Linked DNA regions of Homo sapiens: region 1 is linked to region 2. Evidence: promoter capture Hi-C in 16 types of primary human blood cells and fetal thymus (Javierre and others, 2016). All regions are on one chromosome and are shown on one strand. The core of a region is centred on a gene start or on the middle of the fragment in contact, and the rest is flanking DNA. Distances in the headings are between cores, read along the strand shown.

Evidence for each region. Contacts are between HindIII fragments. The CHiCAGO score rates a contact against its expected background, and 5 or more counts as called.
Region 1: a contact is called between a fragment that was not itself captured here and the fragment with the promoter of CMTR2 in region 2, in 2 of 17 cell types (M1 macrophages and M0 macrophages). The highest score is 5.8, in M1 macrophages.

What each region holds. Positions count from the first base shown.
Region 1 is chr16:70,806,056-70,811,101 of GRCh38, reverse strand. It overlaps HYDIN (HYDIN axonemal central pair apparatus protein), which reads left to right. Exons shown (of 86, transcript NM_001270974.2): 85 at 1,095-1,319; 86 at 3,040-5,046. The coding sequence ends at 3,522. Among named protein-coding and RNA genes, the nearest start is that of VAC14, 7.4 kb to the right of the region's middle. The HindIII fragment of the contact is 3,024 bases long and covers 1,722-4,745 here.
Region 2 is chr16:71,285,558-71,290,719 of GRCh38, reverse strand. CMTR2 (cap methyltransferase 2) reads left to right here and starts at 1,318. Exons shown (of 3, transcript NM_018348.6): 1 at 1,318-1,584; 2 at 1,783-1,842; 3 at 4,781-5,162. The coding sequence starts at 4,800. LOC102723786 (a long non-coding RNA gene) reads right to left here and starts at 1,920. Exons shown (of 4, transcript XR_933707.3): 1 at 1,765-1,920. RefSeq lists silencers at 1,046-1,115, 1,196-1,565. The HindIII fragment of the contact is 7,094 bases long and covers 1-5,162 here.

The sequences.
Region 1 (5,046 bases), core at 1,984-4,483, 480 kb after region 2:
ATAGTAAAACCAAATTTTACCTATATAAAAGTATATGAAATTGAAAATAAGTCTCCAGAATCCCATTTTCCCACCCTAACATAACTACTGGTAACAGTGTGGTATATATTCTTACAGTCTCTTTCTATACATCCATAGACATATTCTTCACAAAAAAGAGCTCATACTATATATGCATTTCTGGAACCTGCTTTCTTCCACTTAAAATATCATCAACATCAACACCTTTCATTTCGATGTGTATTGCTCTACACCTCTGGTTTTTTTTTTGAGACGGAGTCTCACTCTGTTGCCCAGGCTGTGGACTAGAGTGACACGATCTTGGCTCACTGCAACCTCTCCTTCCCGGGTTCAAGTGATTCTCCTGCCTCAGCCTCCCGAGTAGCTGGGACTACAGGTGCGCACCACTGCGCCCAGCTAATTTTTCTGTTTTTTTTAGAAATGGGGTTTCACCATGTTGGTCAGCCTGGTTTCGAACTCCTGACCTTGTGATCCACCCGCCTCAGCCTCCCAAAGTGCTAGGATTACAGGCATGAGCCACCGCACCAGGCCCCGCTCTACCTCATCCTTTCTAGTGGCTACACAATATTCCACTGAAATGAGAAAACTGTAATTTGTTTAACTAATCTTCTACTAATAATACATTCGAATTGTTTCCCTTGTTTTGCTATATAAGAAATGCTTTCTGTTCTTGCTTTGTTTCGCCATGGGTAATAATGGAGGATGGCAGAACCCAGGACGCTGTTCTGAGATTGGCCATGAGCAAAGAAGGAGCTGCCTAAGCTTCAGCCCTCCTACTGGCAGCACTCACCCATCTCCACATCTCCCTATGTGCGCTTCTCAGGAGACAGTCCAGCACCTGCACTTAGATTCATAGAGATCCCAGATATAGAATCACCTGAACTAGAGAAAGCTAGGAGAGGTACAGGGGAGAGAGGGTGGGCTGGTTTGGACAGGTTCCCCAGGAGCAAGAACAGCATGATCATGTGCACTATTTCTGCCCCCAACCTGCTATGGAGCCTTGGGCAGGTCTCTAGGTGGCAGGTGATGAATTAGCCTTTCAGCATGACAGGATCCTCTGTTTTCTCTTCCAGGGCACGTTCTCATTTGAATTTCAGCCCCTGAAAGCTGGAGAAACCTTCGGAAGACTAACTTTGCACAACACTGACTTGGGTTACTACCAATATGAGCTCTATCTGAAAGCCACGCCAGCACTTCCGGAAAAGCCTGTTCACTTCCAGACTGTCCTTGGCAGCAGCCAAATCATCCTTGTGAAGTTCATCAATTACACACGGCAGAGGACAGAATACTACTGCAGGGTGAGTGGCCCCTGCTCTACCTTCTGCCCTTCCCTCACATGAACGCTGGGTTCAAAAACAATGAGAGGAGACACAGGGAGCATGAATGTGAGACTCAGAGAGACTCAGGTGCTTCGTTGTCATGGTGACACCTGCCTCAGAGGCCTGAATCTAGCCTGGAAACTCCCAGCTAGAAACAAACAGCACCAGGCCTGGGTTCTTCCATTACAGACTTTCTGTCTTAACAAGCTGTGATGGAGTGTAGGGGAGTTTTGTTTCACACAGCACGCCCAGTGATCCACAGAGGGAGACAGTATAGCTTAGTAGTCATGGTATCGGCTGTGGAATCAAACAGACATGGGTTTGAGTCCTGGCTTCACCACTTACTCTTTGTATGAATAATTTGCTTAAGCTCTCTAAGCTTATTTATAAATGGGGATAATACCCCCAACCTTGCAGGATTGCTATAAGGATTTTAAATATGTATCTAAAGCCATTTTCTTAGAGCCTAGCCTATAGTAAGTGCTCCATATACATTAGCTGTTACATCAGTTGGAATATAGGTTCAACTACTAAAACAGAAACCCAAAGCTAGACACAGTGGTTCACATCTGCAATCCTAGCACTTTGGGAGGCTCAGGTGGGAAGATCGCTATAGCCAGGAGTTGAAGACCAGCCTGGGCAACATAGCGAGACCTCATCTCTATTTAAAAACATAAAATAAAATTCTAAAAAACAGAAACCACAAATAACAGCAAATTAGGTGTTGGTTTCTCTCACAAATAACAGTCTGGGCATAAGCAGTTTGAGCTGGAATGGCAGCTCGCTGACACCAGGCACCCAGACATCTTCTGTCCCGATGCTCTGCCCTCTGAAGGGAGCTGTTTTGGTCCACGTGGGCCAAGATGGTTTATCAGGACATCCACATTCCAGCCAGCTACAAGGGAAGAGGGGACAGTTGTATATATCACCTCTACTAATATTCCATGGAACAAAACTTCACAGGACCACACCTATCAACAAAGGAGCTAGGAAAGGTAGCTTTTGTACTGGGCAGTCACATGCCCAGGTAAAATCAGAGATCTTGTGGCTGTAGCCAAGAGGCAGAGGCTCTTGATCAGTTGTATCAGCCAAGAGATGCTAGGTTAGGTGCAGTAGCAATCACAGGGGCTTAAGATGAAGGCTTGTTTCTCATTTGAGCAATTTTCCAGAGAGGCCAGCAGGGGACCCTGCTCATCTCAGTCTCTTGGGATTCAAGCACCATCTCAAATATTTCCAGTACAGTATTAGAGTGGTGAAAGGACCCTGACAGGAGTTAAATTGGCAATGAAAGGCTCTAGCATGGAAGTGACACCTTTCACTTCTGCTCACAGCTAGTTGTCTGGAACTAGCACCACCCATCTGCAAGGAACCAGAATGTTTGGTCTTCCATGTACATGGAAGGAAAGAACCGAATATAGGGGATCAGCATCCATGACTGCCCTATTAACGTAATGTGGCTGTGTGTCTCAGTACACATTATTAACATCTCTTTGCCTTTGTTTCTTTGTAGCAAAATAGAAATAATAATTAGTAATACCTACCCTACAAGGGAGTTATAAGGACACAACTTTATAACATTCCCAGTCTCACACAGACATAGTTGCTTGATGTCCAGGAGTGGAGGGGCTGGGGTAGACTTGAGCTCCTGGTGTGCTCTTCAGGATCTCACGTGAGCTGAGTTTGTTTGTTCCCCTTTCAGACCGACTGTACAGACTTCCACGCAGAAAAACTCATTAATGCAGCCCCAGGAGGCCAGGGAGGCACTGAAGCCAGTGTGGAAGTCTTATTCGAGCCCAGCCACCTGGGTGAGACCAAGGGCATCCTGATCCTATCATCGCTCGCAGGTGGAGAGTATATCATCCCCCTCTTTGGAATGGCTCTGCCTCCCAAGCCCCAAGGTCCCTTCTCGATCCGAGCCGGGTACAGCATAATCATCCCCTTCAAGAATGTCTTCTATCACATGGTGACCTTCTCCATCATCGTGGATAACCCAGCCTTCACCATTCGCGCTGGAGAGTCTGTGCGGCCCAAGAAGATCAACAACATCACAGTCTCCTTTGAAGGAAACCCATCTGGCAGCAAAACCCCCATCACCACCAAGCTGACTGTGAGCTGCCCTCCTGGTGAAGGGAGTGAGACTGGAGTTAAATGGGTTTATTATCTGAAGGGGATCACCCTTTAGTGGTAACCAGGGTTACCTGTATCAACCAAAAGCTATGCATTGTCTTAGCCTGAAAAAGAATAGAGAAAACAATAAGAATTCTAAAGGAACTGTTTTTATTCTTCTCATACAATTATAGGGCAGTTATTTCCCTATTATGTGTTTTCCAAATATAGATATGAAATATCTATTCCATATTAAACATTATAACTACACACAACAGCTCTATATTTTAGACAACTGAATCCTTGTGAGTCCCTAAATTGAGTTTCTTGACATAGCCCCAAAGCTCAAGTACTTTGTAATAATTCCCATTTTTATCAAGAAGGCACAGGTATCACACTAGTGACCTTCTACTCTACAACACTTAGCAATGCGTGACGCTGGGTACTGCAGTTTCTTTTTAAAATCCAAAATGGTTTAAAAAGCCCTTAGACATGACTATTTTGATGTGGCATTTTATTCTGCTTTCACATAAAAGCCAAATAAATATTTTCAGAGGGATGAGCAGATAACATTAGGGCAATCCAGGGACACTCCCATCACTTTTTCTCTTGGCTTTTATACCATCAGTGTCCGAATCCCACATCTGCCCTACACAGAAAGTTCTCACTGAAGTCTAGGCCCTGGAGAAAGGCTAATAGAGATCCCAGCTCCCCCCACCACACATACACACCCCGCCTTGGATAGCATTCAGCAGGAGAGCAGGGATTCTCAACCCATCTGCACATCAGGACCACCTAACTCTCACTCTGAACGTGCCCAGTCCCCATCTGATGTAATTGGTCTGGAGAGGGGTGTGGGCATCTTTATTATATACATTTAACTTGTATAGCAGATGGTTAAAGTCTGGCCCTGGCATGGGTTTGCTTCTGCAGACATACACCTCTGACGGAGGGTCCCCCTGCCTCTACCTGCTCCCCACACTCATCCCCCACAGCCCTCCTACAAGAGGGGCAGGAGACTGGAAGAAGATGGCCTCTTGGGAATGAATGCCGTAAAGAAGTGGGTCTTAAAAATGGTCCCTGGGCCAGCAGCAGTACTATCACCTGGGAATTTATTAAAAGTCAAACTCTCAGTCCCCATGTCAGATCGACTGAATCAAAAAGTCTGTAGGTGTGGCCCGGCAATCTTTTAGCAAGTCCTTATACCTGTCAGAGGTGGCTTTCATGGAGGGAGACTCTTCTCCTTCTTCTGTACCTCCCCACAACCCTAGCCCAGTATACTCTAGGACCAAAAAAGCTTTTTCTAGAATGTCTGTAAACACAGACCTTTACAATAGTCCTCCCTCATCCTCAGGGGATACATTCCAAGGTGCCCAGTAGATGCCTGAAACCACAGATAGTACTGAACACTCCATATACTGTGGTATTTTCCTTTACATACATACCTTTGATTAATTTATAAATTAGGCACAGTAAGACATTAACAATAATAATAATAAAATGTAATAATTATAATAATATGCCAGCATCACTACCCATGTGCTTTGGGGCCATTATTAAACTAAATAAGGTTTCCTTGAACACAAGCATTGCGATCCCA
Region 2 (5,162 bases), core at 69-2,568:
CGAGACGGAGTCTCGCACTGTCGCCCGGGCTGGTGTGCAGTGGTGAGATCTCGGCTCGCTCCAACCTCCGCCTCCCGGGTTCAAGCGATTCTCCTGCCTCAGCCTCCCAAGTAGCTAGGATTACAGGCGCCCGCCACCACGCCTGGCTAATTTTTTGCATTATTAGTAGAGACGGGGTTTCACTATGTTGGTCAGGCTGGTCTCGGACTCTTGACCTCGTGATCCGCTCGCCTCGGCCTCTCAAAATGCTGGGATTACAGGCGTGAGCCACTGCGCCCAGCCAAAGTGCATGTCTCTTTTCAACGTTTGCCTTCTGGGCTAGGCGGCTTGGCTCATGCCTGTAATCCCAGCACTTTGGGTGGCCGAGACCAACGGATCGCTTGAGTCCAGGAGTTCCAGACCAGCCTAAGATAGGGAGATGCCATCTCTCTAGGAGGATCGCGTGAGCCCGGGGAAGTTGAGGCTGCAGTGAGCCGAGATCGAGCCACTGCACACCAGCCTGGGTGAGGGTAAGACCTTGTTTCAGTAAACAAACAAATAAATAAGTTTGCCTTCCGTAAGGTTTCTAATAACGTTTTTCTTCCATCCACAGATGTAAACCTGTTTCCCCATAGTCACACCAACAGTGGTCATTACCAAGGTTTTACATCTTTGCTAAACCGAGTAAAAAGAAAACTTGCTGTTTTCATTTCCATTCTTGTCTAATAATAGTTTAAACAGTTTTGTATATCCTTAGTGGCTATTTGTTTGACTTTTTTGTTTTTTGGGAGGCCTGTTCTAATATTTGCTCATTTTCCTTCTGGGGTTGTTGGCCTTTTTCTTATTGGCTTATTAAGCAACATAATTAATATATATTATGTCATGTATATATAAACAATCTTATCTTGCAGTTCCCTAGTTTGGCTTTTAACCTATCGTCTTTTGAGCTGCAGTTTCAACCCAGTCTGTACAGGAAGTAACAACTGTCCAGAAGAGTCTGAAAGCCCTTGGGGCCAGCAGCCAGTGAGCGGAACCAGCACGTCCTGACAGACAGGTTTGCCCCGTCCCTTCCCTCCCTCCCCCTCCCCCTCCCCTTCGCCTCCCTGTCCCTCTCCCTTTCACCCCTCTTCGGGACGGAGCCAAAGAATGCTCCGCCTGCGCGCGCCGCTTCCGTTGCCATAGTGGCCGGGGGCGGGAGGCTGGCGCCTCCCAGCTTCTGTACTCCGCGAAGCAAAACCTAGGGAGCTGAGGCCTAGGCGAGGCGAGAGTCGCCGGCGTGCGTAACGTTGGCGCACGTGACTCCGGCCCGGCCTACAGGGCGCGTGCGCAGTGGGACTTGAGTGCCTCCTGGTCCCTGTCTGCCGGCATTCGCGGCTGCGGGGCCCGGAGGTGGGACTGGCTTCCCGGTGCCGCGAGGGCGGGTCCGGACAGCCTTCCCCCCAGTCCGGCGCACCATCTCCCTGCCTTGTGGCTGGAGGCGCCGCGGACCCAAAGGGAGGGACCATCCCGGGAAGCAGCCCCGAGAGCGGAAGTGCAGAATGGCTTCCTCGAGAGAGTAAAGTGCAGCCTCTCCAGACACTGGGGCCCCAGTGGGCGTGGGCGAAGGTAATCCAGGCCTGGGTACGATTCCGGGCCCTCCTTCGACTTCCCAGCGGGTGAGCCAGGGGCTGGGACTGAGTTTCCTCCAGGTCAGGGACCGGGCCTCTGGAGTGGGGTTTGGGACTTACTTCACTAGATGAAATGAGATATGGGGTGCCCGGCCCAAAGTCAGCCCTGGATACTCACTGGCCGTTGTTTTCACAGTTGCTGGTAGGAGGAGTTGGCGGAAGCACTTGGAACTCCTTTATAAGTGTCAGCTGTGAGGTAAAAACTGTTGATGAGATCTTGTGGGTTTTGTTTTGGGTTCACTAATTTGGGCGGGGGCTACATAACTGCCTACTTGAGTTTGCAATATGAGAATGGTAATAGCGACCCACTTAGCAGAATTATGATGTCACAAAGCTCAAAGGACTGTTTAATGAAAGGCTCAGAGGATCATATACTGGAAAATTTTTCCACACACGCTGTAAGCCACATGCTTTTTTTTTTTTTTTTAAGTCATGCATTTAAGTGCTGGAGTGAAGTTGAGGTGCACTATTAATGACTCATATTCAGAACCTGAAGAGAGAGATCCCTTTTGTGCTAAGTATGATATCCACTCATTTATTCAGTAATACTGAGTGCTTACTGTGTACCAGGCAATGTCCAACTTCTTGGAATGGTCTATGTGTAAACAAAACAAAGATCTCTGTCCTGTGGAGCTTACATTCTAGTTTGGGGAAGACAAATAATAAACAGTAAACAAAAAGAAGGAAGTTATAGGTTGGAAGTACATGAGTACCATAGGAAAAAAATACAGCGAGGTAAGAGGCATGGGGAATGCAAGATGCAATCTTAGGTAGGCTTCACTGAGAAAATGACATTTGAGCAAATATTGGAAGGAGGTGAAGGAGTTAGCTGTGCTGACAGCTGGGGAAAGAGCATTCCAGGCAGAGGGACCACCAATGCAGAAAGACTTTTGTCTTGGAATGTGCTTGGTGTCTTCAGTGAACAGCAGAAAGGCCTGTTTGGCTGGAGTAGTGAGTAAGGGAGTAGTAATAAAAATTAGGTGGCAACACAGCAAAAGTATAGTCAGAACGGTGGAGTGTCTGAATCACTTAAGTTGTCCTCATGTGAAGGTAATTTCCTATTAGCTTAGGTAAGGTTTCACAGCTTAACTACAGCCGTTAATTAGTATGTGAAGTTAATGATTAAAATTAGACTTTTTCCGAAATAGAGTATAGATGAGATCTAAACATGGCTGTAGTTTCCAGCAAGCACAATGCGAATTAAGACAGAGGAGCTTGTTGAAAAAAACTTTTATATGCCCTTATTTTAAGATTTTAGTGAATGTGGAAACACCTCAGTTTTGTCTTCCTTTAGAAATTTGTCTAAATATAGCTCTACCAGTAAAAAAGAAACAAACAAAAAACAGGCATAGTGGCTGACACCTGTAATCCCAGCACCTTGGAAGGCCGAGTTGGAGGGATTGCTTGAGCCCAGGATTTTGAGACCAGCCTGGGCAACAGAGCAAGACCCCATCTCCACAATTTTTTTTTTAACTAACTGGGTGTGGTGGTGCACGTCTGTAGTCCCAACTCCTTTGGAGGCTGAGGTGGGAGGATCCTTTGAGCCTGGGAAGAGGTCAAGGCTGCAGGGAGCTATGACCTGTGCCACTGCACTCCAGCCTGGGTAGCAGAGTGAGACCCTGTCTCAAAAAAAAACTTTTTTTTAATATAAATATACCGTGGCAAACAAATGACTAAGAAGACACCTGTTACTTCAAGGAAATTACAAACTGGTAGAGTAGACTTGCAAATAATTTAAACAAAATAAGAAAGAATGAAAAAAGTGTGCTAAAAGAACAGTACAAAGTAAATGCTAAAAGAAACATCATCTGAATATTATTGTATGTATTACAGCAGTAGTTCCCTTTGTTTCTCATTTTGTCCTTGAACATCTGCTTTTCTGGAGTGATGATTTGATTGCCAATTTTTTCATATTTAACAAATTCAGATTTTTTTGAAAATCATTTGTAGAATGCATTGTGTATGCTAAATAAGTGCAGAATTTGTGAACTAAAGCATCTATTGATTAACATTGCACTAACAGGTACCATGTAATATTCATTGCTCTCCCTGCTGGAATTTGTAACTTTTCCAAAACTATGCCATTAAGCCATACTTCTCATATCCTTTTTCCTCTTCAGAAGGAAGAGGTTTCTTTGTTTCTGGTTTCTTTGGCAGTGTTGACTGCCAGAGTATGTAGAGTGACTATTTGTAATTTGTATATTCAATATGTATATTTCTTCAGTATAAAATTCTGCTATCCAAGTGTTAAGTTTTAGTGGCTAGAAGAAATAATGATATGTTATGGTGGAAGTGTGGAGCTGTCTGAACCATATGAAAGCCAGGAATCTATAGTTTGAGACATACCGGGTAAACAGTTGGTCACTTTCAGCATCAAGCAGAAAAAGGCTAACCACTCAAGTACAGCACAGTTTACAAGCAGTATGATGATGAACGTTAGTTGATGACCTGTATAGGTGATTGGTACCACCAAAGTGCCTGTCTTAGAGAATGAAATCTGGACAGAGGATGTATTCAACAATCCTACTAGTGAGGTAAGTGGCTTGTGGCAGGATCAGTACTGGGTTCAGGTACATGATCCTCTCCCTGAAGGAGGTAAAGTATGACGGGAACTAAAAAAAAAAAAAACGAAAAGTCACATGTTAGAGCTTGAACAAAGGTCATGTCCAGGGATGAATCTCTAAGGATGGATTTGTTTGAGGTCATGTAGGTGTTGTCACAGTCATTGGTAGGGAAGAACTTTGGGGAAGAGTTAGATGGGTTACTATGATAATCAGAGCTGTCATTCACTGATGATTATGCTTTGTTATATGTTTTTTATATGCTAGTATGTTTTATCTTCTTCTTAAAAAATGATAGGCTTTTTTTTTTAATGAGAAGAAACCAAATCCAAGAGATGGAATTTGCCCAAGGGTGCTTATTAAGCCATAATTAGCAGAGCTGGAATTTGAACCCAGGTCTTGGATATCAAAGCCTTTTTCATTATTCCAGATTACTTGGTTAAATAACAGAGTATGCTGACTTTAGCCTTCCCATTTTATGGAGTTTGTCATGAGTGTGATCGTATTTGCTGCTCATGAGATTTCGCTCACTAATAAATTTGATTCATTTAATTATGTGTTTTCTCTTCCTAGATTTTAATTTGATTTGAAAATGAGTAAGTGCAGAAAGACACCAGTTCAGCAGCTAGCAAGTCCCGCGTCATTCAGCCCAGATATTCTTGCTGACATTTTTGAACTCTTTGCCAAGAACTTTTCTTATGGCAAGCCACTTAATAATGAGTGGCAGTTACCAGATCCCAGTGAGATTTTCACCTGTGACCACACTGAACTTAATGCATTTCTTGATTTGAAGAACTCCCTAAATGAAGTAAAAAACCTACTGAGTGATAAGAAACTGGATGAGTGGCATGAGCACACTGCTTTCACTAATAAAGCGGGGAAAATCATTTCTCATGTTAGAAAATCTGTGAATGCTGAACTTTGTACTCAAGCATGGTGTAAGTTCCATGAGATT